Regions from separate parts of the Homo sapiens genome. Here regions 2, 3 and 4 are each linked to region 1. Evidence: promoter capture Hi-C in human tissues and cell types (Jung and others, 2019). All regions are on one chromosome and are shown on one strand. The core of a region is centred on a gene start or on the middle of the fragment in contact, and the rest is flanking DNA. Distances in the headings are between cores, read along the strand shown.

Region 1 (6,954 bases), core at 2,121-4,620:
CCGGACGCTGCCGCCCGGGGTTCAGACAGCGCGCGAGACCAGGGGAGATGCGGGGGAGGGTGGGCGGCCCTGGGCTTCCGGCCGACCGCTCGCAGGCCGGAGGCCGAGCGTTCTCCTCCCCGCCCCAATCCTAGGCGCGGGGTGCAGCCTGTGGTCGGAGGGGCCTGCACCGGGAGCCCCGCCCGCCCCAGGGCCCCGGTACCCCCGGCCTCCCCGCCCGAGAGGAACCGCCTGTGGGAGCCCCGCGGGCGGCCGGGCCCGGCTCCCAGGCCCAGGCCTCCGGCCCGGCGCAGTAGGACAAACGGGAGGGCAGGGATTTTTTCTTTTTTTCTTTTTTAAACACAGGATTTTTATTAAAATTCTTATTTAAAAAATCGAAAGCTTTCTGCGCCCGGCGCTGTTGGGGAACCGCGCCGAATAGCTGAGCTCCAAGTTCGGGGCTGAAGGCCCGGAGGACAGGGCAGAGGGCTCCCTGCCTACAGGGTTTTCTTTTCCATATTTGAGAAATGTTTGCACAATAAAATAAAAAGAGAAAGGAAGAAAGCAGGGGAAAACGCAAAAACAAAAACAAAACAAAAAACAAACCCAAACAAGCCACAAAGAAAGGAGTTGGACCCAGACGGGAAACAGGCCGGTCCTGAAGGTCATTTTGGCAACAATCACCACCGATATTTACAACGAAAAGCGAAATCTGCCACCAGTTGTCAGAACGTTTACATGGCCATAAATATTTAGCATTTTCTTATTTTTTTTTAAAAAAAGGAAGAAATTCTCTGTATTTTTAAAGTGTTCTCCACTTGCTTTAGAAGACGGCTGACAATATCGCTACTCACACAAACATATTTTACAAAATGCACGAAAGCAGGGGTGGGGGGTCGGTCTTTTTCTCGTTTTCAAGTGACGACATTAACGCTGGGACGGTTTGGTCCCCCCGGGGAGAGGCAAAGAAGCGAAGCTGCGCAAACATTCTGTAAACACGGCGTAGAGTTCAGCCCTCTCCCAAGGTTCAGAAGGAGAGGCATGGGCAGAGCTGGGTGGGTGGAATCTGCCACTCCAAGGAGACGCAGGCAACCTCCCGGCGCCTCCCTAGTGGAGCCGAGAGTCAACTCGACTCCATAATAATAATTATAATAATAATAATAACCACCATAAGGACCGAGGCCTCCTCGCCGCCACCGCCGCCGGGGTGGGGCCTGGGCCTGGGGCCGCGAGTCTCGTTGGGGCGGCGCTCACCAAGTCCACTGCTGGGCCTGGACCAGGGGGTGTGCTGTCGGGTACTGGGGGGTGCTGGCCGAGCTGTACTGGGCGTTGTACTGCATGTGCTGCAGCGACTGCGCGCTGTAGGCAGAAAAGGGAATGCCCGCCTGGAAGGTGGCGGCTGCCAGGTCCTGGGCTTTGAGCGCGTGACATGGTTTGCCGTCCCTGACCAAGACGGGCACGGCCACCCGGCGCGGCGAGGGCAGGGGCGTCACCTCCATACCTTTCTCGGCCCGGGCGCGCTTCATCTTGTAGCGGTGGTTCTGGAACCAGATCTTGACCTGCGTGGGCGTGAGGCGGATGAGGCTGGCCAGGTGTTCGCGCTCGGGCGCCGACAGGTACCGCTGCTGCCGAAAGCGCCGCTCCAGCTCGTAGGTCTGCGCCTTGGAGAAAAGCACTCGCCGCTTTCGCTTCTTGCCGGCGTCCCCCCCGCCGCCCGGGGTCTCCTTGTCATTGTCCGGTGACTCGTCGGCCGAGGGCTCCGGGGACTTGGAGCTTGAGTCCTGAGGGGGCGCCCCGGCAGCCAGACCGTGCACTGGGGGGAGGGGGAGAGAGAAGCGCGTCAGGCGTCTGGAGGCCGCGCGCAGCCTGCACCAGACTCGGAGCACCCTGGATCCTCCGTGCGACCCTGGACCTCCGCGCCTGGCAGCCCAGCCCCGCTGCCTTTGCCATGACCCCTGCCTTCCTCTACGCCTGACGAAGACGTCGGGACCTCCCAGGGTAAAGAGGGAAATCCGTAGGAGTGGGGGCTAGGGGCTCGCCTTTCAAGGGGCTCACATAGTGTGGGTGAGAATTTGGGGGGGGAAGTGGCACTGAAGATCATCGCGGGTTAAGGGCTCCGGCGCCCTTAAGCGGTTTCCTCTCCGGCGAGACGTGGGCAGATTTTTAAAAGAAATACCCCACAATCCCAGCATTGATCGGCTCGGCCATTTAAGGCAGGTTTTTGGGGGCTTTCGTTTCTGCTTTCGGGCCTTCTAGACACCCCCTGCACTGCACAAAGCGTCCTCTATGATCGCGCAGGGGGCAGGGTGAGCTATTTATACCCGGGCCACCCGAAGCCTCCCCACCCTCCACCCGTACCCGGACGAGGCTCGCTGGCTACCTCCAGGGCGCCAGGCCAGTCCCTCCCAGCGGCCGGAGTCCGGGGGCTGCGGCTGGAGCCATCGGTCCGGGTTGACATCATATACCAGCCCCTGGGAGGTATAGCCCTTCTCCCTCTTTCTCCTTAACTTCTCGCATTGAAAAAAATTTTGGAGACCAAGTTCTTTCCCGGAACTAAGGAGGCTTGAAGAGGAGGGCAGAGGACATCCTATACAGGTGTTAAAAATCTTTCTACGGATCCGAGTGAGGGGGTCCGGGCTTACATGGCCCCTTCCCCTTTCACTCCCAGCGTCCAACCCGGGCTGCGGCTGCAGGAATGGAGGGGACCACGGCCTCGGCAGCCAAGTTTTGCTACTTACGGGAGTACTGAAGGCCCTCGGTGCTGGCCAGCCAGCGCGTGTACGGGTTGTCGCTGCTGTCGTAGAAGGGGTTCTTCAGGGGCAGGCTCTGCACCGCGTCCAGGGCGCCCTGCCCCAGCGGCCCGGCCCTCTTGGCTGGCTCGGGCCCCTCGTTCTCTTCCTCCGGACCTTCGGCCACAGAGCCCTCCTCATCGTTGGTGTCCGGCAGGTCTAAGATGTCCTTGACCGAAAACCCCGTCTTTGTGTTGGTCAGCGACATGGTTCGAGACCCCAAAATTTATGTCGCAAAGTTGTAGCTTCACTTGGTCAATTCGTGGCGCTCCCCTGCCCCGGCGGGCGGGGGAGGGGGGAGTTGGGGGGAGGGACTGGGGGAGGGGAGGGGGGAATTGGCTTTAATTATTGGGATAATTATTATTTTTAAAAAGAGAAAGAAACTGGGGATGGGGAGGAAAAAAATGAAGCCCAACCCAGTGCCTCTCTCTGTCTTCTTTGAAAGCACGCGGAAATGGACGCAGGAAGCCGGGCGGCCTGCGCGCCGAGCGCCGCGGGCCCCGGCCTTAGTTTCTAACTCCAGGAGGGGTGCCAAGGCGGCGTCAGCTCGGGCTCCGGCGGCCGCTCGGCGCGCGGTGGCGGCTGGTGGCGAGGAAAAAATGGGCCATTGCCCGAGCGATCAGTCCATATAAGGCTGGGCTCCACTCACGAACCTGGGGAGGCGGGGAGAGGGGGAGAAAGAGAGGGAGGGAGGGAAAGAAAGAGGGAGGGAGGGGGAGCGAGAGAGGGAGCGGGAGAAGGGTGGAAAAAAGGGGGAAGAGACATTAAAAACGCAAAGGTTGGCCACGTGTGGGCGGGTCTTGGGAGTCAAGTGGATGAAGACAGTATTTGCAGATGTGAAATTGTGGGTTTTGGGGAGCTCCGCGCTCCCAGCCAACGGCCCTCTAGAGCAAGATGAGAGGTGTAACGTGTCAATTAATTGCAAAGACGGGGCGAGCCTTTTTTTTTTTAAACCCAGTATTTACATACAAAGGGCCACCGCGTCGCTCGCGAGTCCACACACTTGAAAGGGCCGTTTTAACAAATTGCATCTTAAAAAAGGTGGGGGTGGGGAGGAGGAGGGGAGAAAACAAAACAGAAACCAGGAGGAGGGAAAAAATCCTCTTTAACATTCACCGGTTCCTACCTCCCCGCCCCCGCGCGCCCACCCCCGGCAAGCCGGAAAATTGGCGATTTGTGGCGCCTTTGGAAAAGGGGGAGGGGGCGAAGGCCGAGCTGCGGAAATCTCTCCTTTCCATCGTTGGTGGTTGCCTAAACAAGATCCGGTTCAAATGGCAAGAGCCCAACTTCTGTAAGCCTCCTAGGTCAATATTTTGGTTGAGGCTTAAGGATGAGTGCTAGAAATGACAAGGCAAGTAATTGATTCCAGTTAACCGCGAGAGAGCCCAAAACCCAGGAGAGAGCTCCGCTCCGGGCCGGCCAGAGCCACCACCAAGCGACCCGCCCCCTTCCAGCCGCCCTTTATTTGCTAAAGACTCATTTATTTCCTTCACTCCGCCTCCCCCCACCTCCCACCCCCAACCCCCCGCCTCCACCTCTCTGCGGCCAAGGAGGACGCGCAGTTCACTTTCTGCTTTGCGGGCGGTCCCGGGGAGGGCGGGGTAAGAGTGAGGAGCTCCAACTTCGTCTGGGGTCGGACCCTGGCCCTGCTGCCTCTGGGCTCTGCGGGCCTCTTTCCCCGGGTGGAGGAAAGGGCAGACGGCCCTGCTCTTTCCTGCCCTCTATTATCCCTCCCTCTCCGGCCCCCTCCCTCTCCAGCCTCTGGCTAGAGGTGGAGCAGCGGGAAGGCGGCGGGGCGGGATTGCGGGGGTGGGGGTGGGGGTTGTGTCTCCAGCCTGGGTGAAGACCCAGAAAGCTGCGGGGGAGGGGGGTCGCTGGGTGGCCCGACGATGCCTCGTTTTCTCCCCAGTTTTCTTCTCCCACGCGAGTTCTTTAGTGTGGTCTCTTTTTGGACGCCTTGGGTGCGTTCGGAGTACGCGCTCCACGTTTCCAGGTTAAGTCAGGTTAGTGTGAAGTTTCCAGCCACTCTCGGCTCTGGGAACTGAACTTTCCCGGGACTTGCACTTCCTCCTCGGCGCTGGGGTTGGAAAAGACCACGCCGCATTTGCCACCCCTTCTTCTAGTTAAAACTTTTTTGGGGGGGGGGTGCAGGGGTGTAGATTGGCTACCTGATGCTCGTTCGCCCCAGAGGAGTGTCAGGAAGGAGCTTTGTCTGGGGGCGGGGAGGGGCACAGAAGGCCACCCCTGCGGGGTCCAGGTCTAGTCTTCCCACAACCTGGGCTCCTCCGCGCGGGCCAAGCTGAGCGCGCGGGCACCGGGTCCTCCTCGCGCGCAGCTGCAGCGGACGCCGCCGCGCCCCAGCTGCCCCCGGGTTGCCAGCGCTGGGTGAGGGCACCTCTCCCCGAGCCGCTCGGCGGCTTTCTGCAGCCCTAGCTGCCTCGCCCCCAGTATGTGACGTGGGTGACAATGGCCCAGGTTAGAGCAAGCCCCTCGTCGGCGCGTCCTGGGTGGTCGGACCCGGGCAAACACAAATACAAACCGATTGCTAAGCTGCGGACAATGAGCGAAATGTAGACAAATGTCCCGCTCCCGTTGGAAGCCTTTGTCCCGGCTCGGTTTTTGCATTTATTTCAGTGGCGAAATAATACATGATTGACGCTCTCTTTCAATGTGTCCTAACTGTTTGGAATAAATCTAAGGTTGTTCCTAGTTGTCATGGCATTCAACCCTTTTCAATGGACTATCTCTTCATTCATTTCTGAATCCGTCCACAATATTAAGGAAACCCCTTCATGTCGACGCTCCCCGATTCCTCTTTCTCCTCCTACTTTTTCTTTTCTCCTTTCTCCCCCTCCTTCCCCCCTTTTTTCCCCTGGAAGAATTAGAAACTTGTTTGAATCGTCTTCCTCGAACCCATTACTTTTCGTGCTTTTTTTTTTTTTTTGCTCGCTTTCCGTCTCTGTCTTTCTCAGCGCCCCCCCTCCTCCGCCCTTTCACGTGGGAGCTCGTCGCTCTGCCCCGTCGGAGGAGGGAAGTTGGTTCTCCAGGAGTCGGGGAAGCGTCGAGTTTGGATCCAGGGGCGGGAGTGGGCCTGCCACTGCTATTGTTACTCAGCTGCTAAATAAATAACTGGAGAGAAAAAAAGTTCCTCAACCCAAGCGTTGCAGCAAAGACCCTCCTTTTGTTCCTCCTCTTATTCCTCAGTCCTAAGGGGGTGGAGGCTGTCTTGGGGTCCAGGGCAGCCACTAGGTTGGGGACCCAGAATAGGATCTGGTTGGGCCAGGCAAATTCTTGGGTCAGGTGGCAAAGGGGTCTTTGGCAGCAAGTGTCGTTTCTCGCATATCCCCAGAGCCCTCTTAGGTGGGGGAGTGCCCGCAGAGGCCTCCCAAAGCGTGTTCATTTCTTCAGCTGGGAACCACCTCGCTGAAGTTCCATGTAGTTCCCAACTTCTCTCCCCCTTCCCCAGCATAGTGACCCTTTCTTCTCAGGATCTAAATCAGCACCGCTGCTATTGATCAAGTCCCCTCCCCTCACCCGTGGGAGCCTGCAAGGTCCGCAGAGCGCCTGAGAGAGGATTGCTTTCCTAGGGGAATCCTGGCTCCTGGAATTAATCACGGGGAGGGAGTGCTGCCATAGGCGCCTAGAGAAGGAGGCCCTCAGCCCAGTTCTCAAAGGTCGGGTTTGCCTTTGCGCCTGCCCCTTAGCCTCAATGACCAGCCGAATCCTTCTGGGTCTCAGCTTGCGGTGTCCTCTTGTCGGAGCACCTGAGGCGCCCACTTCCCCTGCCCTCGCAGGACGCCTCCTGGACTCCGGCCCCTCCTACACTTTCACCCCAGCGAGTCTTCCAGTTTTTATTTCCCCTGGCCTGGGGGCAGCTGGGCAGGGAGGGAGAGAATTGGAGAGAGCTTCGGCCTTGCCTCCTCCGCGATCGGTGCTTCCGGGTCCACAGCACTCAGCCTCTCCCGGGACCTCGAGACTCATTTCCCCATCACTTCTCGTCCGTGTGGTTCCCGCGTCCATTTCCAGAGCGTTAACATTTGCAATTGAAAAGGCGCTGGGAGACCGCTGGGAGGTCCGTAATTGAAGGGGAGAAACTGGGCTTGTTAGTGGAAGATCATAAAATGCAAGTCCCCCAGGAGCGGCCTGTGGACGCCGGGAGGCCTGCGCAGGCCCAGCTGGCGGCCAG
Region 2 (6,417 bases), core at 567-3,066, 590 kb before region 1:
AGAGACGTCATTCTGGCACTTCTGAGTTCAGGGCACAAGAGGGCTAGCAGCTTTTCTTTCTCTCTGCTGGGAAATCTCACCGCCGCATGGGAAGGAAGATCAGGATGACCACAGACAATGAAACAGCATGGGAAAGAGAGCCACATGCAGCAGCATTGAAGGGCCAGGAGTGAATGGAAACTGCCTGGACCTTCCGGCCCAGCCCTGCGGCCAGCTGAACACAGCTGAGTGATGACCCCAGTAAATGGCATGTGGAGCAGCAGATCCCCCTGGCTGAGTCTGACCTGAGCTCCTGACCCACAGAATCAAGACAAATAATACATAATTGTTGTAAGCCCTGTCATTTGGGGGTAGTCATCTATTACAGCAATAGATGACTAAGTCAATGCCAGGCCATTCTTGACCAGGTCACTGCTTGGGCAGCTGGGCTCAGTCACACTGGGCTTCTGGGAGATGGTGTCCAACACGCCTTGAGATGTCTCACTTGGGGATGAAGCTGGGGCATTCTCTCACTAACACCTATTGTCCTGGGTGGAGGGCTGCTCATTGGGGTATTAAATGTGAGCCAGAGCAGACCCTGTTCCTACAGCCAGTGGGAGGCAAGTGCTTGCTGGAGGAAATTGTCCCATGCACAGGAATTATACGGGTTCAGTGGCCCTGAGCAGGGTGGCAGGTGGCACAGGCAACAAGATCCAGGCCCTGTGTGCTACTCCTGACTTGCTTCTGCTACTCACACCCAACCCATCCTCATTGCACCAACTCGATCAGACTCAAGTTCTTCACCTGTCCCTGCCTTCTGGAATGATGTTGCACTTTTCTTGGGATGCTCCTTCCCCTTTCATTATTCTAACTCCTATTTTACCATCAAAGGTCAGTGCAAACACTTCCTCTTGGAAGTTTTCAGTATCAGTTAAATATCTTTCAGTTACAAATTAAAAAAAAAAACAGCTACTCAACTCAAATAAGCTTCAGCAAAAGAGAAATTATTAATTTGTTTAACTGCAAAGTCTCAAAGTAGGACAGGCTTCGGGCTCAGTTTGACCAAGGCTCAGTTGATGTCACCAGAAAACATTGTCTCTCTTGGCCTCTGGATTCAGCCCTGTCCATCTCTGTGTGGTGACTACATTGTCAGGCTCCAAATAGTGGTGGGATGGCTGCTACTGCTCTAATTCATAATCTTCTCAATTTCAAAGAAGAGGCTTTAAAACAATTCCTGCAGTTTTCTAGCATTAGTTTAGGTTACATGCTCATCTCTGAACAAGTCCAAGAAGCTGGAGGAAGAAGTATGCTGGTTGTCTTTAGCCTGGTTCATATCCTGTAGTCCTAGGGCCAAAGGCTGGGGCCTCACCTGGACCAATGGGTGATGGATTGGTCCACAAATAAAACTCAGGGGTTGTTGCCTAAATAGGGTGACAGGATGCTAAGGGACGTGAGGCAGCAAATGTCCTCTACTCCTTTCCTGAACATCTCACCTACTTTCCTCCTGCCCTGGTTTAATTTAAATGCCCTTTTTCTGTGACTCTGGCATTTGCCATACTGTATTATAACAGTTGCTTTATGTGATTTTCTCCACCAATGTCCTGTAAAACTTTGTGGACAGAGGCCATGATTGACAGAGGTCATGATTGATGTGCTTTTATATCTTCATACATACTCATCCGCACCAGCATTGCAAATTAATTAGGTCCCCCAAAATGCTTGTGGAATGAACAAACAAATCAATCAATGATCAGCCATAAATAATTATGTAAACACTTTCATTAGAACAAGCACAGTCATGTAAGAACAAAGGCAAGACTCTAACTGATAGATGTTTACTTTTGTTTGTTTGCAAATTTTATTAAAATATAAATACACAACAAGTACATAAATTATAATCAATGGAAGAATGTTCATAATCTGGACACAGTTACATAACCAGAACCAAGATGAAGAGACAACATTACCAGAATTCCAAAAGCTCTTGTTTACTACCTACCTCTAAAGACAACCACTATCCTGACTTGTTAGTTTTACTTGTTTGTTTGTTTGTTTGTTTTGTCTGATTGTTTGTTTGTTTGTTTGTTTGAGATGGAGTCTCGCTCTGTCACCCAGGCTGGAGTGCAATGGCGCGATCTGGGCTCACTGCAAACTCTGCCATCTGGGTTCAAGCGATTCTCCCGCCTCAGCCTCCCGAGTACCTGGGATTACAGGTGCCCACTACCACACCTGGCTGTTTTTTGTACTTTCGGTAGAGATGGGATTTCGCCATGTTGGCCAGGTTGGTCTCCAACTCCTGACCTCAGGTGATCTGCCCACCTCAGCCTCCCAAAGGGCTGGGATTACCACTCCTGGCCAGTTTTGCTTGTTTTTGTAGCTTGTTTGTTCTCATTGCTACATAGTGTTCTATTACGGGATTATGCCACAATTTATGTACCCATTCTACTGTTGATGGACTTTCAGGTGGTTTCCAGTTTGGGGCTACTACAAATAATGCTGCAGTGAACAGTCACAAGTGTCTTGTTAGTGAACATATGGACATGTTTCTGTTGAGTATATACCTACAAGTAGAATTGCTGTTGTAAGGTAGGGATGTATTCAGCTTTAGAAGACACTTTCAGTTTTCCAAAATGGGGGTACCAATTTACGCTTCAGCTAGAAATGTAGACACTTGATTGATTGAATTTTGCAGTTTTCATCTGCATAACCCATGAACACATTTTTCATGTATTCACAGAGCTATGTACACAATAGATGATTGATAAATACTATATGGATGAATGAAGGAATGAATGAATGAAGTACCACACTGAAGAATGCTGAAGAGCCACAGAATTTGATGAAAGCAAACTTTCCCCTTCCTTGACTACAATGTGAATTAAACGAAAGACTTTGTGGAGGATTTCATTCATAATCCCTTCAAAATGAGTTAGTCCTGCTATGTACTGAATGGATTATGCATGAATCCCAAAACAAATCCAACTGCAATTAATGTTTTAATAAACTGGTTGCTAGTGTATGCAATACCCACAACTCGTCAGGAGGGATTTTATTATATTTGTAAACATTAATTAGTTGTTTGTTATTGTCAAACTAAATTTAAAATAAATCCACAGCATCGCTGGCCACTTGGGTGAAAATATCTCAGTGGTGACTGTAATTAGAAAATAGATGTGAGAGAATAGCCTTAATTAGTTAGCTAATGGCGAGCTTTCCACTAATTGAAACGAGGAGTCTCTATCTCACAGGGTGATACAATAAATATCTTAGGTGTGAGCGTGAGTAAGAAGTGAACTCCTGTGGGTATTAGTAACAAGCCCAAATGTTCTTTTAACCCTTTCCTTGTGGTATTTCCATAAGAATCCACATGCTTGTTGCCAAATAAAATACAAAATAAAGAGGAGGTTTTTGGCAGGATGAAACTGATTCTGTCCTAGCCAAAATAGGGAATGGCCTCCCTAATGCCAGATTCAATTTTAGTCCTTGTCTCTCTGAACTCCTCTGGGGCAGGTGACCCCCTATTTTCCTGCTTCTTCTGCTTCTGTGGACACTCATTCTCAGTTTTCTTCATTGTCTCTTCTTTCTCCTAATGCTTACGCATTAGTGTTCTCTAACGTTCTAGTCTTCTCATCTTTTTTATCTTGCACTCTCTCCCATGATGGTCTCATTCACTGCTGTGGTCTTAACCTCCACCCATGTGCAGGATCCTGGATCTGTGTCTTCTTTCCTGCCCTCTCTCAGGCTTCAGACTCAGGTGTCCCATCATCTGCTCATATTCCCTACTGTATTTCTTAAGGGACTTTGTAGCAGATGCTGTTTGCAGTTCCGTCCAAATGTTCCGGGGTCCCGTGTGTCATGTCTGTGTTCTCCTTCTCCAGCTTCTCTGCGGCTTTGCTTCTACCTGCCTGCACCTGTCACTCTCTTGGGTGAATGAACCTGGGCTCTCCACATAATACAGAGAGCCAGAAGGGCCAGAGTTCCCCTCTTGGGTCAGGCTGAGGGTGGGACTTTACCCGAGAGCTCATCCCTGCTGGGCTTATTCCCTTCCCTGTCCCGCTTCCTCCATGTCCTTATTAGTCTCCCCTGGGAGCACTTCCTTAATAAGTCGCCTGTACACAAACCTCATCTTAAGTTCCATTTCTACTAACCTGGCCCAACATATATACCAAGCAAAATACATCATCTCCCCACAAAATGAAAAAAAATATAGTTCCTTCTTTTATATTTCAGCTCTCCACTGGTATCACTATTGCCTAAGGCAGAAAAGAAGAAGTTCTCCCCTTCCCCATTTACCTGCTACTTTCAGCCACATGGAAATGCTCCCCAGATCCTGACAATACAACCCCTCCCTATCCTCACCATCCCCTCCTTATCCCCACCATCCCCTCCCTATCCCCACCATCCCCTCCCTATCCCCACCATCCCCTCCCTATCCCCACCATCCCCTCCCTATCCCCACCATCCCCTCCCTATCCCCACCATGCCCTCTCTATCCCCATCATCCCCTCTCTATCCCCACCATCCCCTCTCTATCCTCACCACCCCCTCTCTATCCATTGATCCTTCCACTCCATCTGTTGCAGAGACATCTACCCGCCCTCCAAACTTCAAACTTTCCCATTCATAGTTTGGGGTTGCTGCCAGGAAGCAGCAGCCAGTCAAGACTACATTTCCAAGCTGATGACCTTGCAACTGAGCAGGCCACATGCCCAGTTCTCACCTATGACAATGGAAGTGACGTGTGTGTCTTCCTGGTCAAGGTTGTCAAGAAGTGGGTGGGGCTCTTCCACTCTCTCTTTCTCCCTTCTGCCTAGATGTACAGGACTTGAGGTCCCCAAGGCTGTGAAATTGCAAGAAAGAAAGGATCTGGGGCTGCTGAGCTACCCGTGGGTGAAGCCCTCCCATGACCAGAAGCACACTCCCATTGGACAAGGACAGAAGCCTTTGTGATGCTAAAGCCACTGAAATTTGAGGGTGTGTTTGTGTGGCTGCGGGGGTGCCCTGGATTACTACACCACCTCTGCTGCCATTACTTATTTAGGATCGTCCCTGCCTGGATTCCTGCATTCGCTCCTGACATAGTCTCCATCCTCCTCACCCGTCACAGATCTGTCTTTTACCTATTCACCAGAACAGAGCAACCTAATGGAAATGCAAATCTGACCTTGTACCTCTCTGTTCTTCAAGAGTCTTGAACACCTCCCATGCCCTGTTAAGTACTGGATAAAGGTGAAGTTTCCCAGCACCTTAAGAGACCTGCATGCCTAACAGTTCTCTCTCAGCCACTCTCAGCCTTGTAATTTATACCCTAGGAGTGCCTGACTACTTACAGCTCCCTGAAAGCATCTGCTGTCTTACCAACACCTGGACAGTCCTACCTCGAATTTGCCGGCTGATTGGTTCCTGCTGATTTTTGAAGATTTAACTTGGACAAGAAGCCATCTTAACATTTCCCCAGGCTGCAGTAGAGCCCTCACTGGGAGTTTCTTCCAGTGCACCAAGAGGCCTAGACTCAGCCACTCCCCAGTCCCTCTTCCCAACCAGACCAACCTGCACACTTGTTGAAAGTAGGGATCCAGGCTTTACATTCCAGAACCGACTCTCTGTCCATATTACTAATCAAAAGTATGAGAGACCAACTTTTCAAAATTATTTCCAAGTTCTGAGATAATTTTCAAGTTCAACAAATATGGAGGGCACGCGTAGCAGGAAAAGTTGCTGTGTTTTGTCATTTCCTTGGCATTGCTAGAGATGGGTTGAAGAATAGTCTGGCAGTAATAGGGGAGAGACAATATTAGAGTGGTGATGGAGTGGACAAGGAAGCAAGAGAGAGGTGACATCTAGGGAGAGACGGGAAAACCACAGTGTGGGGGTAGGACTGTGGACCTCAGGTTTGAAATCCTTAGACCCAGAAGGAAATGTTCTGGGTCCGTTGGTTCAAGTGCCAATTGCGGGTTCAGAACACGGAGCTCTGGACTGATGAGCTCCTTGTCCAAGTGCATCCTGCCCACCAGTGACCAGTCTAAAATAAAGGCCTGGTCACGAACACTCTGGCCTCTCTCAGTTTTACTCTCTGCTGCCTTCAGGAGCTAAGCTTTTGCCAGATGAAGCTGGAAACTTCCATCCATTAGTAACAACTTCTCTTCCCCGGAACTCTAGCAACTCAACTGGAAACATGCACCAGGGAAGAGAGTAGGTCTGGAAGAAGGACTGTTCTTTATTAGGCCCACACTGAAATTAAAAAAGTTTTATTCACATCTCTCATTCTGGCTTTGACAGATTTCATGAGAAATCCCTCTATCTGTGGGTCTTACCGAAAGAAGCATTTAAAGAAAAATATGTCCGTTAAAAAAGCAAATAACTAGTGCTGCTGTGTTAGCATGGTTTGCTGTTGTCGGGGGAGATGGTGGCTTAGTGAGATGTAGCAGGTTAGGACAT
Region 3 (6,703 bases), core at 3,603-6,102, 870 kb before region 1:
TGCAAGGGCCCCTGGATGACATGACTGCTGGGAAACCAGGCACCAGGCAAGCAAAAATCAGAACCTGCTCTTCTGCACAGTTTGTCTGAAGTGCTTGAAGCCACAGAAGAAACAGCCTGATTCCTTCACATCTTATCTAAAACAAAATTAAAAACAATGAAAATGAAACACATGTATTTACAGAAATGCATTACAATGTAGCATCGGTCTTGAGAAAGAAAAACTACAAGTTAAAGGTGTGTTAAGTAGTAAACCAAATTCTTCACTTAGTGACAAATAAGCAAAGATGCTGCAATACAGCACAAGAGTTAAGAGCCTGGGTTCTGGAGCCAAAGTGCCTGGGTTCAAATGTAAGCGCTGCCACTTTCTAGCTGGGACCCATGGAGAACCACTTAACTTCTCCATGCCTTAGTCTCCCCATCTGTAAAATAAGGATGATAAGACATTTACCACAAAAGACTATGATAAAGACTGAGTTAACATATGTAAACCAAATAACACAATGGCTAACTCCCAGTAAGCACTATGTAAGTGTTTCCTGTTAATAGTATCTTATTCTGTAAGGCAACAGTACCCACGGCCTCAATTATCCATAAAAACAATGACAAAGATAATCTCCCTCCAAATTTACATGTGCTATCACTATAATATGCCATGTTGATAATGTTCTTGAGAATCAGAAGATATGGAGCTAAATAACCTCAATGAGACAGAGCAGCTCTTCTTATACCTTATGTCCCTATTCTATTTCTCCAACACCTTTGCCATGCTCTGAATTGCCAGCATCACGCTGTAGGAGACATCTACATAGGGAGATGTGTCCTTTTTCTTTCTTTACACTTCAAATTTATCCCATTCCTAGAATTCAAAAGCACATGTCCCTCCATTTCTGTATTCCTAAATAACTGAAAAGATTATGTCAATAAAAAAAAAAAAGCAAAAGAGGTTGAAAAAATGTCACATGCAGCTGAAAGATGTAGTGAGCTCCAAATGCCAGCAACTGGAGTGACTGCCTCATCTCCTTTCAATTAATTCAAGGTGGTGCTGACTCCACCAGAGCAAGAATATTGCAAGTCAAACACAAAGCTTTGCCAGAAAACCAAACCAAAAAGTGGAGAAAAGCCTAAATAAATAAATAAAAATATTCTGCTTTCTCCCAATAGAAGCCAAAATACACTAGGACAGACACCCCAGCTGGTGACAGTACTGCCCCATTAACGGGGTAAATTCACAGTGTACTTCCAAACACAGTCCTGGACTCCACCACTGTTCTGCACAAACCTCCATGCCCACTCACACCTGTCCTCCTCTCCCAAGCAGGTAAAATGAGTGGTAACATTACTATTCAGCCATCAGACCGAGAGGGGAGGGGAGGGGAGGGGAGGGGAGGGGAGGGGAGAGAAGGGGAGGGGAGGGGAGGGGAGGGGAGGGGAGGGAAGAGAAGGCTCTATGTATATCTTTTTTCTTTTTTTGAGGCAGGGGTCGGGGGATGGAGTTTCACTCTGTTGCCCAGGCTGGAGTGCAGTGGCATGATCTCAGCTCACTGCAACCTCTGCCTCCCAGGTGGAAGCAATTCTCCTGCCTCAGCCTCCCGAGTAGCTGAGACTATAGGCGTATGCCACCATGCCCGGCTAATTTTTGTATTTTTAGTAGAGACGGGGTTTCACCATGTTGGCCAGGCTGGTCTCGAACTCCTGACCTCAGGCAATTTGCCTGCCTCGGCCTCCCAAAGTGCTGGGGTTACAGGCATGAGCCACTGTGCCTGGCCAGCTCTATGTATATCTAATCAAATTATATTTAATTGAACAAGAGGGAAGTTTCTATGAAATTCTACCACAAGTCTCCAATTGTTATATGTTAACTGTATTTAAGAGAACTAAATATAAATAAGGGTAGTTATAAACATGAGATTAACAACCTGATAGGTTTTAACTACAAGCCTATTTCCTTAAAATAAGAGGGACAAAATATAGAATCTACAGTGACGCTAGGAATAACTCACTTCGTTTTTTTTCAACATGTAAGAAATAGTTAACATATCAAGTTTTCAGAGGCTGTGATTGTTTAAGCCAATGTAAACCAACCAATATATTAGCTTATTAAAGGCATTCGCACAACTTAATTAACTCCAAGTGAATTACCTTTCATAAAATATTCATCCCAGGCTGAATTTTTTCTGCCATTTATGTTTTAGGGTAATCTTATCTCAGCATCAAGAAGTATATGTTATAATAAAAGACATATCCATTTCAAAATAAACCAATTTTAACCTATAAATCTGCCACAAATAAATATTCAAGAGTGAGACCCTGTTGTTCTTTTCTCCCACAATGGCTCTCACAATTAGTAAAATTAATTAGAGACAACTATAATTTTAACAACCAGGTTACCAAGATGGACAGAATCAAGCATGTGAGCTCTGAAGCTTAGAGGGCGACTGCACTTCCTTTTTCTGATGATAAAACTGGAGCAGTCAGTGCCTTGCCCATGGTCCCTACCCATACCCAGCAGAATCAGAATTAGAACTCAGAACTCTAAACTCTGAAGCCCAACCCATTTTCTCCTAATACTATTTAAAATGTCTCTCGCAATAAGTTATGATGTAAGAACAAAACCCTAACAATATAATTTCTCAATTAAAAATTAAAACTAAGTCAAGTGGTTTCTAAAGATCTTTTTTCCAAAATGCCCTAACATTGTTACTTTGTGGCATTAACAAATTTAAGAGTAATAAAAAATGTCATTACACAATAAAATAAATACCTTAATAGAATTTCCAGTGTGTAGAAGCTTCTTTAAAGTTGAGCCTGAAAGTTTAAAATAATGAATTATAAATAGAGTATATAAATGCATATCAAAGATCTATTTTAAGAAAATATGTACTTATGACAAAAATATACTTTTTAAAAATAAAAGGAAGAAGGCTGACCTTCAGAAGCAAAGCAATGTCACAGAGGGAAAGACGTTTTCAAGATAAAAGTACCTTAAGTATGTATCTCTTCAGAATTCTTTTAAAACAGTCAAAATGACTGATATTAAGGTAAGCCAAATGCCCACAGTGGATTATGCGCATATATCTCTTGTCATGCATAAAATGGATGCTTTTTTTTTTAATCTCTAAAGGTAAAAATAATGTAAAACAATTGCTCACAAAACATTTTTACAAGAACATTTTACAAATACTTAGAATGGCATGTTTCTCTCCTGGCAATGACAACCACATTTATGGGGTTTGGTCCATCAATAAATCCTCTAGCAGAGCGCTTTGGTCACTGTCAAGGAGGCAGAATCAAGGCTGACTCGGAACTCCAGTCAACTACAAAAACTGGTGCTGCAGCCCACTAGAATGAGAAAAGCTTCTCTTAGGAGGATAGAACACTATTACTAAGTCTTCTATAAATGTATTCATGACCTCAGTATGGAGATGGCAACCCCACCTAAATATCTTATGTAGCCTCTAAAACGGGATCTTAACCTCAAAAAAGGAGATGATCTTTTAAAACAGAAATATACTGAAAATCTGAGGCAAGAGAACTTTCCTCTCAGTCAAATTTCAGATCCTTTAAGAAAAAAATTACTTAGATCCTCTGATGAAAAGTTTGTGATAGCTCTTTAACAACTGGATATCAAATAATATTTACTCCACCAATGAATTTCATAGAGCTCCTCTAACAAGAGAGCCAGTGTTTTGGCAACTGATACAAGCCACAGCTACATTGATAAATACATATATAATAACTAAATGCATACTCTTTAGAAATTCATTAGCCAGAAAAAAATCACTGGCAATCCGAAGGAACCTTTTAGAACGATTCTACTGTTCATAACAACTAACACTAGGGCTTGGAGGAAACTCATCATCATGACTCAGGCTAGGTTCTAGCACTTAAATAACTAATAGTTTGTGCTTGAGTGAATGAAGCGAAAGTGTCTCCCCTTCCCCAACTTCTCCCTTCACAAAACTGTATCCAGTAATTTTTGGTCTAGAGCCAACATTTACTAGGCTGGCTCTCTCTGTCACAGCTAAGGTTCAAGTGTCCATCTAGCCCACACCTTTCCTCAACCTGGGGCCTTGTTCTTTGTCCCCATGTTCATCCATTCTTGGAGAGTTTGTTCTAAGTCAGTTTAACATCTACTTCATTACACCTTATGGTGGCTGGCAGAGCCAACAGATACTAGACCTCCCAGGAGACCTAATGATAAAGTCTGCACAGACAGTTCTCTTTCCAGCCATCTGGCTAATCCATCATCTTGCAACATATTCTTGGAAATACTTTCTCCTGGTCATTGTGTGTGAGCATTGGTGCTTGTTAGTCCTTCCCCTTGTTAAGATGGGTCTGGCTTGTTTTTGGTGGTGGTGGTGCTTTTTTTTTTTTTTTTTTTTTTTTTTGAGACAGAGTCTTGCTCTGTCGCTCAGGCTGGAGTGCAGTGGTACGATCTCGGCTCACTGCAACCTCCACCTCCTGGGTTCTAGCAATTCTCCTGCCTCAGCCTCCTGAGTAGCTGGGATTATAGGTGCATACCACCACGCCAGGCTATTTTTTGTATTTTAGTAGAGATGGGGTTTCACCGTGTTAGCCAGGCTGATCTCAAACTCCTGAGCTCAGGCAATCCACCCGCCTCGGCCTCCCAAAGTGCTGGGATTACAGGTGTGAACCACCGTGCCCGGCCGTTAGTGTTGTTTTTTAAGTATTTGGACTACCTATAGATGCCTATAACCACTGTTCTCTACACACAGAGGAGAAAAATACATATAGAAAGGGCATTACATGCAGACATATAGAACACATGACCCATATTGGTCAATGGTCCCAAACTTTTTAAAATTTATCTGGCAATTTGTTACAGCAGCAACAGAAAACTAATACATATGTATTTGATCTAGTCTATTCTGTTGTAGTGAAAAACTCGTTTGTACATGGGAAGCAGTACAGCTTAGCAGTTATAAGTCAGATTCAGAAGCTAGACTGCTAGGGTTCAAATCTAGGTTCTGCATTTATTAACTGTAACCTAAGTTAGTAACTTCATCTCACTATGCCTGAGTTCTCTCATCTGTAAAATGAGGTGACAATAGTACTTATCAGACAACTGACAGTGAGATTTAAACGAGTTAATACATATAAATGCACAGAACAGTGCCGGGTATGTGGTAAGCACATTTTCCACACAGGACAGGGCATCAGCTATTCTCTAAGGAACTCTTTTTTAATAATAAAAAAAAAAAAAATTAGCAAGAAAAACATGTGCAGTGGAGGCACATAGCATGAGGACTGGTAATAAGTAGCTGAGAACCTTGCTTGGCCTCTGTAGGGCTTTTTTTTTTTCTTTTTGAGATGGGGTCTCACTCTGTAGCCTAAACTGGAGTGCAGTGGCGCGATCTCAGCTTACTGCAACCTCCGCCTCTAGGGCTCAAGTGATTCTTGTTCCCCAGCCTCCTGAGTAGCTAAGACTACAGGCATGCGCCACCATGCCTGGCTAATTTTTTGTATTTTAGTAGACATGGGGTTTCACCATATGGTGATCCGCCCACCTTGGCCTCCCAAAGTCCTGGGATTACAGGTGTGAGCCAATGCGCCCAGCCCTCTGTAGGTATTTTTTAAGGCCTTAAGTTCACAAAGATATTTCTACTTTAACATTATCAAGTCATTTCTCATTTTGTTTTAATTTTTAAGTTCCTCTATATATGTCATGCCTGTTTGGATTTTTAAACTTCTTATTCAAACTATAATTATACCCACCCCACCTCTTCTGTGCCTTGACCATGGGAATAACTGAAAGAATAAGTAAATAAGATCTAATTACTTGGGCTGATTCTATGAATTTCTAATTTCTATTGGCTAACTTTTACTACATTTTAACCATAAATATCCTTTGAATGTAAGTCTTACTACTTTTGAAGAGGCAGTAAAAACGTCAGGGCTGCAACTAGTGAGAGAAGAGTGTAGATTCTGAAAAAAATTTAAGGGATACTAAAAAACTCATTAATCAAGATAAATATTTTCATGCAATGGTTTTTAAAAATTGCATTTTAAAAAATGCAAAGAATCCATAATGAACAATATTAAATTTTTAATTACTAATGTTCCGCTGAACCATATAGGAACCAGAGGGAAAAGAAAAAGGGTATACTTCTGTATGTGTGTTTCTATGTACTTTTAATTTTTTTTTCTCGTGCAGAACATTAAAGTAGCTTAAAAATGTAAAATTGGATGTATTAAAACTCACAGCATTAGTTTAAATATTTTATTTATAACAAAGAATGTATTATAATATTACTTTCCTGGCTCTGAAGAAAGCAAATTCATCAATAATATTTTCAAAATCTATTTCTTTGCTTCTCATTTTAGATTGTAAGAATTGTCACATTTGACAATTTCTCTTTGAACAAGTAACAATCTTTTAAAGATCTTTTAATAATATTTTTAAGGCCAGGAGATCATACAGATATTTCTCACCTAAAACTTTAACATTATAAAATCTTTTCTTATTTAGTTTTAATTTTTTAAAACCTCCTTCTCAATATCACACTTCAAACCAAATTACACACAATGCAGTACACCATCAGCATCAAACAAGAAGCAAGAAAGAGAGAAACTCCCTCTGGGCTAATGGTATGCCAAGCCTGCTAGAAGAGGCCAGTGGAATACGAACAGAGAACTTCCTGGCACTACAAGATCCACACTAAGCATGAGGAACCAGCATT
Region 4 (6,171 bases), core at 1,276-3,775, 560 kb before region 1:
TCAGGGTCACAAGTCTTTATTACCCTATTAATAGGTAACAAAGACTACAGGGAGCAAGGTGGACCTCACACAAGGCCCTTAACTGCTATGGTTCAGTATTCTTATCTGTACAGTGGAAGTAACAATAGTAACCACCACCTCATGGGTTGTATAAATATTAAGTATCCCTAATACCTTTAAAACAGGGTCTGTAGCAAATGTGCAGTAAATACCAGTTGCTTTTATATCTAGAAAGTCTCCTCCTGAAAGCCTAAAACTGGTCCTAAGCTGAGCGCACCAGTTTCCCCCAAACCCATTTTTTAATTAGTGCTCTCCACTGTATTACTTAGAAGGATTAGCTGCTAATTGCTAAAATCAACCCAAACTGGCTGACATGGTTTGGCTGTGTCCCCACCCAAATCTCATCTTGAATTGTAGTTCCCATAATCCCCACGTGTCGTGGGAGGCACCCAGTGGGAAGTGACTGGATCATGAGTGCAGTTTTTCCCATGCTGTTCTCGTGATAGTGAGTGAGTTCTCACAAGATCTGAGGTTTTATAAGCTTCTAGCATTTCCCCTGCTTGCACTCATTCTGTCTCCTGGAACCCTGTGAAGAGGTGCCTTCCCCCTTATTGTAAGTTTCCTGAGGCCTCCCCAGTCATGCAGAACTGTGGGTCAATTAAACCTCTTTTCTTTGTAAATTGCCCAGTCTCAAGTATTTCTTCAAAGCAGCATGAGAACAGACTAATACACTGGACTATGAAATAAAGGCTGAAACAATAAGTCAGTTTTTGAGTCAATCAATTCATGTGACGGAAACATCGTGGAAGGGCTGGTATTGGGCCAAGTGGGCCCGGTTGCTCAAGACCTATATCTTTCTCTCCATGTCCTAGCTCTGCCCTCTCCACATTCATTCCTGACAGAGTCACCCTTGTGGGCCAGCATTGACTATGTGCTCCTTCCTATCTGGTGCTAGTGGGGTCTCTTCCACAGAAAACCAATAACTGGGCTTTAGCTTGATTGGATCAATTTAGTCTATCTCCTTATTCCTAAACCAATCATGATGGCCAAGAGGAAGGAATAGTGCTGACTGGTTTACGACAGAACCACCTGTCCCACCCCAAAGACCATCATGTCATCCTTAGGAGGATTACAGATGGACGTGGGAATAAAAATAGGCATGCTGCCTGCAAGAGAAGAAGGAATGAATGCTGGTGGCCAAAGGCACCAGAAAATGTTGACCTCACCTACCTTAGTTTCTGGCACCTCCTTCTACCAGTTGCACATTCTAGGAAGCTGAAGTCCTTCCTCTTCCTCTCTCTTCCATCTTTCAATTTGCATGACCCTTTTATTAATTGTCCTCCTAAAAATCTTCTCAATCCAGCCACTTCCCTCCATTCCCATTGTGAACTATGGTCTTGATCATGCCCAGGCCAGCCGAATGGTGTCAGTAGCGGTTGGAAGACAGAAACCTTATCTGTTATTTTAACAGAGAGAAGTTCATATAAATGGTTCTTAATTTTGTAACTAAAATAGTTAAACATGACCTCTAAGATGTCACAGAGGTAGCAACTTCAGAAAGCAGCTACCAGTCTAAGGCTAAGGGGTAAAAAGGAAAAGGTTGGAACTACTGAAACCTAGAAGTATGGAGAGGAGACACCATGGAGTTGAAGTTGAGACCCCTGAAGAGGGGCCCTGGCCAGCTTGGGCAGGTGTCTCCCAGCAGAAGCAATGAGGTTAGCTCTGCACGTATTATATAACAACAGCAAATTGCTGCAGTGGAAGGAACTGCCGCTGAGAGGTGAGGAAGCAAGACTGGGAAGATGCTGTCAAGAACTGAAAGTAAAGGAAGCAGCCAGAAGTGTGGCTGGGTGATGCTCATGTGAACAGGAAGCCAATTAAAGGGCACAGGTCCCTTCTCACTTCAGCCTTGCAGCTCCTGCAAACACCCTGTGTTTTCAAAGCCCCAAAAGAAGCAGCTAGTAAAGCAGAAATAAGGCTTCAGCCCTAGTGATACAGGCAAACCCCCAAATTGGGGTCCTGCCAAGGAGGGTTCTTGGTTTCACTCAGGAAAGAATTCAAGAGTAAGCTGACAGTGAAAGAAAGCCGCTGCGAAGTGAGGAAGCGAGACTGAGAAGATGCTGTCAAGAACTGCATTTATTAATAAACTGTGTTTATTAGAGCAACGTGTTGAAGAAGATGGCTGCTTCATGGACAGAACACGGCTATCCCATAGGCAGAGGAGCACACAGTAGCACTCGTGGGTTGCTGGCTAGCTCTATTTACACCCTGTGTAAGATACTGCAAATCTTCATTATGTGCTAAATAAGGGGTGGGTTATTCACAAACTGTCCGGAAAAGGGGTGGAGAATTCTTGGAACCATTTAAGATAACTTCCAAGTCGAGTGTTGTCATGGCATTTGTAAACTGTGGTGGAGCTGATGAGAGTGTCTTATGCAAATATATTATAATTCCTAGTCCTAGCTGGTTTTGGCCGGTTTCTTTGCTGCATCCTGTTCAGATCAGCAGGGTCATGAAAACAAATCCCTCTGATCTCCTACCTCACAAGGATCACAAAACACCGTATAGAGGAATGAGCTTGGAGCTAAGAGGCAAGATCTTATTAACAGTCACTGGCTTCCTAAATAGCTCTTTTAATTCACTCCTCATTTTCCAATCTATCCTTCATCCCTATTGCCCCAACTCACACCCAAATGCATCATGGCATCCTGGCTGGACCAGTGAAGATTGATAGTGGCTTCAATTGGGAAAAGTGTGGGGTGGGAAGAGGATTTAGGCATCCTGGAGTCCAGATTAGTGCAGCCATGCTGAGAATGAAAGACGGTGCCACCTTGTGTCCTGTACCCTATTGGTGCTGTTAGTGAAGAGTCAGACTTTCCAAGATGATTCTTGATGTTAAATTAGCTTTAACAATTTGAATGTTTTTGGCTTTGTAGATATATTTTTATTTGAATTTGCAAAATCTTTAATAGTTGCATAAGAATTATAATCCTAGAAGGCTAATATGCATTTGTACATAAATAACAGTTTTATCTTAATAAAAATAAGTTATCCCCGGGGATTCACGAAAATTTGCTTTCCCTTTAAGATGGGTCCATGCATTACTCAAATTGATGAAAAGGAAAAATGCCATCTGACTCCTGGACAGGAGGTATAAGCGGCACCAACCCCATGGTCTCCTAGCCTGTAACATGGGAAAATGGCAGAACCATGAGTGTGTGGGGGCCAGAAGATACTGCTACATTTTTTTTTGGATGTGTTGAGAGCTTAAGATGGTTGGAAAGCTTAACAGAGACGTGGAGGGGGGTAACTAGATGATGGGGCTAGATAGGTATCCGAGAAAGACAGGCAGAGAAGCATTTGATGCCATTAAATATGACCCTTTGTGTTCGGAAATGTACCTGCTGATTAATCTGCCATCTGTATCTATTCAGTGAAGGCACAGATGTGCTGAGGGGTCAGAGAGAGTGATTAGGGACCATTACAGAAGATGATGTGGCATTTGAGTTGGGCCTTAGAAGATTGGAAAGGTCTTAAGAGATGGAGGACTGGGGTGAAGGCCTGCCAGGCTGGGAGAATGACATGAACCAGGGCTCAGAGGAATGGCGGGGCTGGATCCCTGGAGGAGTGGGAGGTGACATGTGGAGGCTTCAAGGCACCAGGTTTTGCAAGGCTTGAATTCCAGGTGAAGGAGCTGGGATTTTATCCTGAAATAAAGGTGGAGATCCTTGCTGTTTTCTGAGAGAGGGAGGGCAAAATCCAAATCTGTTATTATGGTTCTCATTTTTCCATTGAGGAAGGTGACACCCAGAGTCGCTGGAGACCCCCTAAGAACACAGGGCTGTTTAATAGGTGTGGAGAAGCAGTGCCTACCCCAGCCTCCTGGTCTACCAGGGCACATCACAGTAAACACTGTGTGCCTGGCTGAAATCGGGAGCCAAAGGCCTCATTTGCATATCTCTCTGGCAGGCAAGGACTGCCCTGCCACTGGAGGGAATAGTCCACATCACCCCCGACACTATGCTGGTGACAATTGGAACTGGAGGTGTTCACAGGCCCTAGTTCATCTGGGAGATGTATAACCATGCAGCCGTCCCAGGGCTGCCATTAGCGCTTTATCTGAAAAGGCCAAACAGCTCCTGCCCTGTAAATTATATCTCATTTCTTTAAAAAATGTGTGTGGATGGAGAAGGGGCAGAGGGATGCAAGGGAGGAGGAAGGGAAGGGGGGCAGCAGGGAAGGGTAAATAGATAAAATAAATGGGCTTGGTGCATGCCTTTTGACCATTTTGCTTTAGTCTATTGATTTGGATTTTTCCCCCTACCCTGGGAGTAATCAATTTTTCGGTGGATGGGCAGAATACAATAATTTCAAGCAAACTCTTCAAATGGGTTGTCATTAATTTGCCTTCTGCCGGTCCTTGTTCCCTCGGAGTAAGATGTGTTTAGCCTTCTCGGAACACTATTGGAGGTATCCTCTGGGGATTTGTGGGGGCTGATTGGCACAGGGCAGGGAATGCAGACGTGGGAGGGGCGAGGAGAGCTGGTGCGGACTAATGAAGGCACAGTGTTTGCTCATCTTTACAGAGTCACTTATTACTGCTAATTGGGAGGGACAGTTCAAATAAGCACAGAGGAGCAGTTGTCACAGGAGCGTGACATGGTTTTAAAGAGGCCTTCCCGGCTCCCTGAACTCCTGCCGCAGGCGGGCTGGATGCCTGCGCTTCGCAGCCTCCATAGAGTGGAGGCTTTGTCAGGGCGCCCCATAGAAGTCAGCAGTCCTAAGAAACCTAGGTTTGGCAAGTCATCGCAGGGAACCACAGACAGACATGCAGCTGCCTGGGACACTTAGAAAGTCAACAGCTGACGGAAGGGGAGGACTCCGAGCTTGGCTGTAAATGGACTTGAAGATGTGATTGGAATTAATTTACACAACATAGTTAGAGGTTGTTTTCTTTAAAGGGCCTAATTGGTTTTAAAGAACATTCATTTGTATGAGTGTTAAAATATTAATAACCTGACATACATCTCCTAGGGTTCTGCAGCTTTATCTTTTGGTTATTTCCTTTGTAAGAAGACATTAATTTCCTCTCCATTCTATTAAATAGACATGAGTGAATGGGCCATGCCCATCCCGTGTTATAGCCAATATTTCCAAATTATTTGGTTACATTTGTGCCAACCAGTTAGTCATTAGCCAATGCTATTAAAAAGCACCTGGGGGCTGGGCATGGTGGCTCATGCCTGTAATCTCAGCACTTTGGGAGCCTGAGGCAGGAGGATCACTTGAAGTCAGGAGTTCAAAACCAGCCTGGGCAACACGACAAGCCCCTCACCTCTAAAAGTAAAAATACAAAATAATTAGTCAAGTGGCTAACACCTGCAATCTCAGCACTTTGGGAGGTTGCAGTGGGAGGATTGCTTGAGCCCAAGATTTTGAGGTTATAGTGAGTGATGACTGTGCCACTGCACTCCAGCTTGGGCAACAGAGTGAGGTCCCACTTCTGAAATAAATCAATACATAAATAAGAGTAAAGTAAAAACAAACAAACAAAAAACATCTAGATCTTCCTGGTGGCCACAAGGAATGAATCACAACTGCCCCAATTCATTCATTCTACAAAAGTATTAAATCCTTACAGTGGGCCAGGAACTACTATAGGTGCTAGGGACACAGCCATGAACAAGATTAAGTCCCTGCTGTCACGAGTTCCCATTCCTATGGAAGGCTGGGGCACTGAGAGTGATCAAGTGATGAACAAGTTCATTTCAGATGAGGACAAAAATGCAGGGGTGCCCTTGTGCCAGTGTTTTACTTGGCTTTTCAGACTCCCGTGTTTACTCCTGTGGAAAACAAGATAAATCAATGCTGCCAAGAAGCAGGTAGTGGAGCCCATACCTTTGAGGGAATCTTAGATAAGGCCAAGTTCAGCTGTCTGGTTTTAGATACAGGAAATTTCTGATTCAAAATATAATCCCATTCTGGGAAGGTATAAGTAACAGATTCTGGTGATTTAGTGTCAATGGAGAAAATTTATCATAAGCCAAGTTTTTGGTGCAAAGCCACCGTCCCTTTTCCTTTTTTTTTTTTTTTTTTTTTTTTTTTGAGATGGAGTTTTGCTCTTATCGCCGAGGCTGGAGTGCAATGGTGTGATCTCAGCTCACTGCAACC

The links. The method cuts DNA at HindIII sites, captures the fragments that hold promoters and counts their contacts. A contact is called where the count stands out against the background at its distance.
Region 2: a contact is called between a fragment that was not itself captured here and the fragment with the promoter of NKX2-2 in region 1, in 2 of the 25 tissues and cell types used here (H1 embryonic stem cells and pancreas).
Region 3: a fragment that was not itself captured here is called in contact with the fragment with the promoter of NKX2-2 in region 1 in 1 of the 25 tissues and cell types used here (dorsolateral prefrontal cortex).
Region 4: a fragment that was not itself captured here is called in contact with the fragment with the promoter of NKX2-2 in region 1 in 4 of the 25 tissues and cell types used here (dorsolateral prefrontal cortex, lymphoblastoid cells, mesendoderm cells and 1 more).

Annotation. Positions count from the first base shown.
Region 1 is chr20:21,510,694-21,517,647 of GRCh38, forward strand. It overlaps NKX2-2 (NK2 homeobox 2), which reads right to left and starts at 3,371. Exons shown (of 2, transcript NM_002509.4): 1 at 2,718-3,371; 2 at 324-1,792. The coding sequence starts at 2,976. The coding sequence ends at 1,230. RefSeq lists an enhancer at 5,068-5,568. The HindIII fragment of the contact is 15,862 bases long and covers 1-6,954 here.
Region 2 is chr20:20,926,432-20,932,848 of GRCh38, forward strand. No RefSeq gene overlaps it. Among named protein-coding and RNA genes, the nearest start is that of LINC03083, 41 kb to the right of the region's middle. The HindIII fragment of the contact is 3,405 bases long and covers 115-3,519 here.
Region 3 is chr20:20,640,743-20,647,445 of GRCh38, forward strand. It overlaps RALGAPA2 (Ral GTPase activating protein catalytic subunit alpha 2), which reads right to left. Exons shown (of 40, transcript NM_020343.4): 5 at 2,764-2,807; 6 at 1-136. Among named protein-coding and RNA genes, the nearest start is that of RALGAPA2, 69 kb to the right of the region's middle. The HindIII fragment of the contact is 6,194 bases long and covers 1,756-6,703 here.
Region 4 is chr20:20,952,066-20,958,236 of GRCh38, forward strand. No RefSeq gene overlaps it. Among named protein-coding and RNA genes, the nearest start is that of LINC03083, 15 kb to the right of the region's middle. The HindIII fragment of the contact is 5,955 bases long and covers 1-5,503 here.